2 separate regions of the Homo sapiens genome follow, and region 2 is linked to region 1. Evidence: promoter capture Hi-C in 16 types of primary human blood cells and fetal thymus (Javierre and others, 2016). All regions are on one chromosome and are shown on one strand. The core of a region is centred on a gene start or on the middle of the fragment in contact, and the rest is flanking DNA. Distances in the headings are between cores, read along the strand shown.

The links. The method cuts DNA at HindIII sites, captures the fragments that hold promoters and counts their contacts. A CHiCAGO score of 5 or more calls a contact.
Region 2: a fragment that was not itself captured here is called in contact with the fragment with the promoter of MESP1 in region 1 in 1 of 17 cell types (M0 macrophages); the score reaches 5.4 in M0 macrophages.

Annotation. Positions count from the first base shown.
Region 1 is chr15:89,749,413-89,753,724 of GRCh38, reverse strand. It overlaps MESP1 (mesoderm posterior bHLH transcription factor 1), which reads left to right and starts at 2,476. Exons shown (of 2, transcript NM_018670.4): 1 at 2,476-3,216; 2 at 3,498-3,850. The coding sequence starts at 2,494. The coding sequence ends at 3,581. It also overlaps the pseudogene MRPL15P1. RefSeq lists silencers at 2,426-2,855, 2,916-3,205. The HindIII fragment of the contact is 7,264 bases long and covers 1,917-4,312 here.
Region 2 is chr15:90,277,497-90,281,653 of GRCh38, reverse strand. It overlaps the pseudogene PERPP2. Among named protein-coding and RNA genes, the nearest start is that of NGRN, 14 kb to the right of the region's middle. The HindIII fragment of the contact is 5,724 bases long and covers 1-4,157 here.

The sequences.
Region 1 (4,312 bases), core at 1,227-3,726:
CAGCCTCCCGAGTAGCTGGGATTGCCGGCGTCTGCCACCATGCCTGGCTAATTTTTGTATTTTTAGTAGAGACGGGGTTTCGCCATGTTGGCCAGGCTGGTCTCAAACTCCTGATCTCACGATCCACCCTCTTCGGCCTCCCAAAGTGCTGAGATTACAGGTGTTAGCCATTGTGCCTGGCCCTTTTCTAATATTCTTTAACAACTCTGCTTTCTTGGATGGGAATTCATGAGCTCTAGTACTTGAGGAGATTTTCATCTGTAGATGTTAGGATTTTCTTATCTACTATATTCAGCACCCATCCTGGAGCAAACTCAAAGAAAATCTGCCTTGGATCCTTCTGAGTACTGAACATTTGAAGAGTTCTTCTTTCGTGATATCCAGTAAATTAGAACTGTCCTTCCTGGCAAGCTCAAGTTGTGCTTCAGGAAATTTGGCAGGATCTGCCAGGTTCCCACGATTCTTTGCATTGGTGGAATATGGTACCAGTGCTTCAGAAGGAAGCATTCTTTTTGGAATGGGTTGTCTCCAAAAAGAATGGAACAGGTTTGGATAGAATTTCCAGACTTCTTGGATCCTGTAAGGCTGTAGTGACACCACCACCATTTTTTTCAATTGCAGCAATAGCTAGTTCTGAAGCCAACTGTACTTCAATATTAACTTTTTTTTTTTTTTTTTTTTTTTTGGACAGGGGGTCTCACTCTGTCATCAGACTGGAGTGCAGTGGCATGATCTCAGCTCACTGCAACCTCCACCTCCCGGGTTCAAGTGATTCTCCTACCTCAGCCTCCCAAGTAGCTGGGACTACAGGCACGTGCCACCATGCCTGGCTAATTTTTGCATTTTTAATAAGACGGGGTTTCACCACGGTGGCCAGGGTGGTCTCAATCTCCTGACCTCATGATCCACCCCCCTTGGCCTGCCAAAGTGCTGGGATTACAGGTGTGAGCCACCGCGCCCGGCCCAATATTAACTTTCACCTGAAAGGTGTCTGCGGCCTTTTCGACCAGCTGAACACCATAATCCTCTTTAAGTGGCTGAATGGTCACACCTCTTCCATTGACAAGCTGGGTTAAGTCAATAGGTTGAGTAGGATCAACACGACCCAAATCAGTAACATATTACAGTCTATTGATACTTAAAGGTTGATACTGGTGTCTGAAGCTAAGTCCTTCATTAAATCTGTATTTTGGGATTCCGATGTAAAATAGAGTCTGGCCATCCCCAAAGCCCAGCAGAGCCAGTTTCCTCTCTGCCTTTCTCTTTTATGGCCTCTGCCGCATTTTCTACCTCTTCTCCGACCTTTTGGTCGTCTCATGGGTTTCCTGGAGCCAGGATTCCGCTTTAAATTGGTCAGGCTCATGCGCAGCAGGGCCCAGAGCTGCCATAACCTGCGAAAAGAGTTTTATTTCTTCCTTTCTGACCTGTATGTCTTTTGTTTCCTAATTGCATAGCCTAGATCCTCCATCTGGTACAATGTTGAATAGGAGTGGTAAGAGAGACACCCTCGCTTTGTTCCTGCAATCGGGGGGTGGGGGGAAGATTTCAGTCTTTCACTACTCAGTATGAGGCTACCTGTAGGTTCTTTGTAGGAGCCTTTCATCAGGTTGATGAAATTCCTCTCTATTCTTAGTTTGCTGAGAATTTTCATCACGAAGGGTGTTGGATTTTGTCAAATGCCTTTGCTGCGTCATTTCCACTCACATTTCATTGGGAAAACCTGTTATACCTGTCCAATAGCGGCAGAACATCAGGTAAAGGCCAGTGGTGACAGCTGTGGCAACAGGCCAAGCTCCAGACCTTGCCAGGCTAGAGGTGGCCTGGGGTTGGAGCAGGCTTAACCCCCTCCCTCTGCTCAGAAGGTCCAGCATCCTGACCAGACTCGGCAGCTTATTGAATTTGCCGGGGTGCAAGCTTCCTTGCACTGTCCACATGTTCTTACCAGGGAAGGGTCTACCCAGGGCCATCCTGCCTCAAAGGAGAAGTGGTTTACTGTTTTCTCCACCTTTAGAGGGAATGAGGGTCCCTGCTCCTGGTCCTTACTCTACTCCACTGTCCAATTGGCGCATGCCCTGAGGCTCTCATTATACAAATTGGAAGCTAAGGTGCAAAAGAACTAAGAATTTGCATAAGGTCCCCAACAGGTGAAGGCAGGCCCCAAACCTAGGATCTAGATTTCGTTTTTCTGACCCCGCTTCCTTTAACCTGCAGGGCTGGCCCAACGCCCCGGGCTTCACCCAACACTGGGCGCAGGCGGGAAGGCCGAGAGGCTGGGTCGGGCGCCCAAGCGAGGGCCCAGGTGGGGCGAAACAGGCGCAGTCAAGGGGCTGGCACCTTGGCCCCCCGCCGTGGATTCAAAGGGTCAGGCTCCGCCCCCTCCAAGCCCCGAGCCCACTTTGATGTGCTGATGCGGCCTGGAAGGGGCCACTTCACACCTCGGGCTCGGCATAAAGCGGCCGCCGGCCGCCGGCCCCCAGACGCGCCGCCGCTGCCATGGCCCAGCCCCTGTGCCCGCCGCTCTCCGAGTCCTGGATGCTCTCTGCGGCCTGGGGCCCAACTCGGCGGCCGCCGCCCTCCGACAAGGACTGCGGCCGCTCCCTCGTCTCGTCCCCAGACTCATGGGGCAGCACCCCAGCCGACAGCCCCGTGGCGAGCCCCGCGCGGCCAGGCACCCTCCGGGACCCCCGCGCCCCCTCCGTAGGTAGGCGCGGCGCGCGCAGCAGCCGCCTGGGCAGCGGGCAGAGGCAGAGCGCCAGTGAGCGGGAGAAACTGCGCATGCGCACGCTGGCCCGCGCCCTGCACGAGCTGCGCCGCTTTCTACCGCCGTCCGTGGCGCCCGCGGGCCAGAGCCTGACCAAGATCGAGACGCTGCGCCTGGCTATCCGCTATATCGGCCACCTGTCGGCCGTGCTAGGCCTCAGCGAGGAGAGTCTCCAGCGCCGGTGCCGGCAGCGCGGTGACGCGGGGTCCCCTCGGGGCTGCCCGCTGTGCCCCGACGACTGCCCCGCGCAGATGCAGACACGGACGCAGGCTGAGGGGCAGGGGCAGGGGCGCGGGCTGGGCCTGGTATCCGCCGTCCGCGCCGGGGCGTCCTGGGGATCCCCGCCTGCCTGCCCCGGAGCCCGAGCTGCACCCGAGCCGCGCGACCCGCCTGCGCTGTTCGCCGAGGCGGCGTGCCCTGAAGGGCAGGCGATGGAGCCAAGCCCACCGTCCCCGGTTAGTGTCCCCTTCCCCGCGCCCCCTTCGTCCGTGCCCCCGCGCACAGCCCCACCGCCCGCCAAGGTGAGGACCAGGCACCCTGCTGCTCCCCGCCGGCAGCCTGGCCACCTGGCCACCATAGTATGCCCAGGGCTCCAAGAAGCGAAGGCAGGGAAAGGCCACGCAGAGGACTGGGTCTCCCCTCGCTAGGGGCCCCCTGAGAGTGGAGCCCACGAGCGCGGACACCCGCACAAGGCCACCAGTGCTTGAGGGCTGCGCTGTTCCGTCTCTCCCTACAGCTCCTTCCGGGCGACGTGCTGGCTCTGTTGGAGACCTGGATGCCCCTCTCGCCTCTGGAGTGGCTGCCTGAGGAGCCCAAGTGACAAGGGACAACTGACGCCGTCTCTGTGAGCACCGAGGCTTTTTGGCCTCAGCACCTTCGAAGTGGTTCCTTGGCAGACTGCCTTTCCTGGAAGAGGGCACGGGCGATCCCGACGGGGGCATTCCTGCGGGTGAGAGCCGTCCCCACCGCGGCGGCCCTTCTCAGCCCCTCCCTCCATGGAGGGACCCATAGGGCTAGACACTTTGAGGCAAGCAGGAGGCTCTGCCTAATGTGAATTTATTTATTTGTGAATAAACTGTACTGGTGTCAGTTGGCAATTTCTTCTTCCTACCCGTGGACACAGAGCTCCCTCTCTCCCTCCAAAGAAGAGCATGGGAGAGGTGGGAGGGGTTCTTGCAATCTTTAGCCCCCCGACCCCCACAGGCCCAGACCCCTTTGGCCTTACCCCCAGCCCTGGCTCAGCATCTAGTCCAGATGGGTCAGCCTGGAATGGGTGGGGAGGGACGTCCTGTGAGAAGGCAGCGGCAAGTAGAATCTGCTCATCTTTTCTTTGAACCTGGTGGGGAACTGGTTAAAACCAAAATATCTGTGTAGAAATACAACTCCATTATTGAGTATTTATTGTATGTACATCAGGTACCTATTATACTCAAGTAACCATTTTACAGAAGGATGAGGATCAGCGCTCAAGCCCAGGTAGGCCTCCAGAGTCCCAGCGCTCAGCTCTTGTGGGATTTTGCCAGCTCCATACATGTTGGGGCCTGAGGGATA
Region 2 (4,157 bases), core at 633-3,132, 530 kb before region 1:
CTGCCTCCCGGGTTCAAGCGATTCTCCTGCCTCAGCCTCCTGAGTACCTGGGATTACAGGCGCCTGCCACCATGCCTGGGTAATTTTTTGTATTTTTAGTAGAGACAGGGTTTCACCGTGTTAGCCAGGATGGTCTCAATCTCCTGACCTCGTGATCTGCCCACCTCGGCCTCCCAAAGTGCTGGGATTACAGGCATGAGCCACCATGCCCAGCCCTCCTGGAACTTTTTAGAGTTCCTAATGAGTTCACCAGAGAAACACAAAGTGGAAGTAACTATCTTCCTGGACAATCTATACTTTGTTTCTTTTTTGGCTTTAAAAACAAACAAAAAGAAAACTAGTTATATATGATTTTTACAGTTGTGTATTCTTCTTTTTCTCTGAACATTTTTCATAGTATGCTTTGTAAATATTATTGCTAGAAAAATGTTGGTACATGAAATCCATGGTCATGGTCATTACAGAAAAGAAAACGTAGGCCTGGCACACATAGGTCACACTTGTAATCCCAGCACTCTGGGAGGCCAAGGTGGGCGGATCGCTTGAGACCAGCTTGGGCAACATGGCAAAACCCCATCTTTGCAAAAAATACAAGAATGCAAAAATTAGCCAGGTGTGGTGGCTTGCGCCTGTAGTCCCAGCTACTCAGGAGACTGAGGTGGGAGGATGGCTTAAGCCTGGGAGGTCAAGGCTGCAGTGAGCCCTGATCGCATCACTGCACTCCAGCCTGGGTGACACAGCAAGACCCTATCTCAAAAAAATAAAAGAAAAAAAAATGCAGATAACCAAAAAACGTCACCTTAAAATTCTTTCCTGAAATTACCATTGATGACATTTCTAGACTTTTTTTCTATGCTTGAGTATATATTTTGAAAGAGTTTATACTGGACAAATGGTCTTTAAGTTTTTTTTGTCTTGACACAGGGTCAGGCTCTGTTGCCCAGGCTAGAGTGCAGTGACACAGTCTTAGCTCACTGCAACCTCTGACTCCTGGGTTCAGGTGATCATCATGCCTCAGCCACCCTGGTAGCTGGAATTACAGGCATGTGCCACCATACTGGCTAATTTTTGTATTTTTAGTAGAGATGTGTGTCAGATCCCAGGGTCCAGGTCCTGCCCATGCTGAAGTCTGAGGGGAGTGGGTGGGTAAGCAGAAAGAATATTCCGGGTGGGGGGGCTGTAGGCAGGTGAAAGATAGTTTTATTCAGCAGCAGCTCTCATTAACAGCTTTCTTACACTAGCTCTCTTATTAGCAGCTTACTCTTAACACTATTAGCCCTGTCTCAGCTGCTTGAGCCAGCTGCCCCCCAACACAGCTGTGCAGCCGACTCTCCCTTGCCTTCAGGTTAAGCAGCTTAACTCTTTCTCTCTGGGCACGAGCAAGCCCAGCTGTGTCCTGGCTCCCTCCTGTCGGTCTGCAAGATGGACAGCTTTGGCTTTCTCTTTCTCTGGGTGCCAGCACGCCTGCCATGTGTGGCTAGCCATGTGTACTACAATGACTTTCCTAAAAAAACAACTGGCTGGGCATGGTGGCTCATGCCTGTAATCCCAGCACTTTGGGAGGCCAAGGTGGGTGGATCACGAGGTCAGGAGTTCGAAACCAGCCTGGCCAACATGGTGAAACCCCATCTCTACTAAAAATACAAAGATTAGCCAGGTGTGGTGGCACGTGCCTGTAGTCCTAGCTACTTGGGAGGTTGAGGCAGAATAATTGCTTGAACTTGGGAGGCGGAGGTTTCAGTGAGCCAGGACCGTGCCGTTGTACTCCAGCCTAGGCAACAGAGTTAGACTCTGTCTCAAAACAAACAAACAAAAAAAAAGAACTCTGCCGTTTCAATTGTACTCATTTAACCCTTTTAAAAAATGTATTATAATTAGATATGTACCAAGGTTTAGTGTACCCTTGAAAAATACTGGCTTGAGATTTTGGCCCAAATCTGTCCCTATCTGCCAGACTCCTTCTAAATACAGATCTGATAATGTTGTTTCCCTCTTTTATTAATGACCAAAGCCAGCAATTATTGAGAAATAAGTGGCAGTAATTGTACGAAACATTTTACACGCATTCTCTCATTGAAACCCCACAACAATCCTGTGATTATCACTCCTATTTTACAGATGAAGAAACTGAGGCTGGGTGAACTCAGCCCCATGGCAAATAAGTGACAGGGCCTGAATCCAAACCTGGAGAGTCTGTCTCCAAAGCCTGAGCTTAACCTTGAAGCAATCTGCTTCCTTCATGGGCACCAGGTGTGGAATAAATTCCTAACTCCTTGGGAAGGCATTCAAGGCCTTTCCCAGTCTGGTCCCAACTATTTTTTGGAAACTCTCCTCTTCCCTTCCTCCCACCACTGTGCAGTCCACACCACTCAGTTCCCAACACACAGTGTCCCTCTACTCTTCAATACCTTCATTCATGCTCTTCCCTCAGGTCCTGTCTCTTGTTCCACATGCCCTATCAAACTTTTTTTTTCTTTTGAGGCAGGGTCTTGCTCTGTCACTCCGGCTGGAGTGCAGTGGCACAGTCGTGGCTCATTGCAGCCTCAAACCCCTGGCCTCAAGTGATCCTCCCACCTCAGCCTCCCGAGCAGCTGGGGCCACAGGCAAGGGCCACCATGCTGGGCTAATTTTTTTTTTTTTTTTTTTTTTTAAGACGGAGTCTCGCTCTGTCACCTAGGCTGGAGTGCAGTGGCGCGATCTCCGCTCACTGCAAGCTCCGCCTCCTGGGTTCACGCCATTCCCCTGCCTTAGCCTCCCGAGTAACTGGGACCACAGGCGCCCACCACCATGCCCGGCTAATTTTTTGTATTTTTAGTACAGACAGGGTTTCACCATGTTAGCCAGGATGGTCTCGATCTGACCTCGTGATCTGCCCGCCTCAGCCTCCCAAAATGCTGGGATTACAGGCGTGAGGCACCGCGCCCGGCCTAATTTTTTTTTTTTTTTAGGAGACGGGGTCTCACTATGCTGCCCAGGCTGGCCTCAAACTTCTAGCCTCAAGTGATCCTCTCACCTTGGCCTCCCAAAGTGCTGGGATGACAGGCGTGAGCCACTACACCTGGCCACCTGTCAGACTTTCTACACAGCATCTTCAAGGCTCTGTTCAAATGTCACCTCCTGGCAGGGTACAGTGGCTCACGCCTGTCATCCCGGCACTTTGGGAGGCCAAGGTGGGCAGATCACTTGAGGTGAGGAGTCCAAGACCAGCCTGGCCAACATGGTGAAGCCCCATCTCTACTAAAAATACAAAAAATTAGCTGGGCGTGGTGGCAGGTGCCTTTAATCTCAGCTACTTGGGAGGCTGAGGCAGGATAATCACTTGAACCCAGGAGGCGGAGGTTGCAGTGAGCCAAGATCATGCCACTGCCCTCCAGCCTGGGTGACAGAGCGAGACTCTGTCTCAAAAAAAAAAAAAAAAAAAAGAGTATCTATTCTTTGACTCACCAATTCTAATTCTGGGAATTCTAAGGAAATGATAAAGTTATATGTCAATAAAAAAGACAAAAAAGATTCGCTAAAAGAGGTTTATCACAACAGTGGTGAAAATTTAGAAATGACCAAAATGTCCCACAACAAAAGAATAATTATATAGCTCACTGTAGCCTTGAACTCCTGTGCTCAAGGGATTCTCCTGCCTCAGCCTCCTAAGTAGCTGGGACTACAGGTAACTGCTATTTTTATAGGTAAAAAATGGTCAGATATATGGTTCAATCTAATATTTGACTTCATACAACAAAATAATATTATATTCCATAAAACAAAATATGAGGTGGTTATTTTAACTGATGTAAAGATATTTATTGTCAAAATATATTCACCATACATGTAAGAAAGAATGTACAGTATAATCCCAATATTACTTTCATTATTATTTTTATCTTTCGAGGCAGAGTCTCTGTCACCAAGGCCGGAGTGCAGTGGTGTGGCCTCGGCTCACTGAAGCCTCTGCCTCTCAGGTTCAGGTGATTCTCCTGCCTCAGCCTCCCGGGTAGCTGGGATTACAGGCCTGTGCAACCATACCTGGCTAATTCTATTTTTTTTTTTCAAGTTTAGAATTCCTGGTTTATTGGGAAAACTTCATAATGAAAACTTCAATTGCCCTTTTCCATGACTTACAAAATAATAATGTGATATTTAAAATGAATTGTTTTTCATTA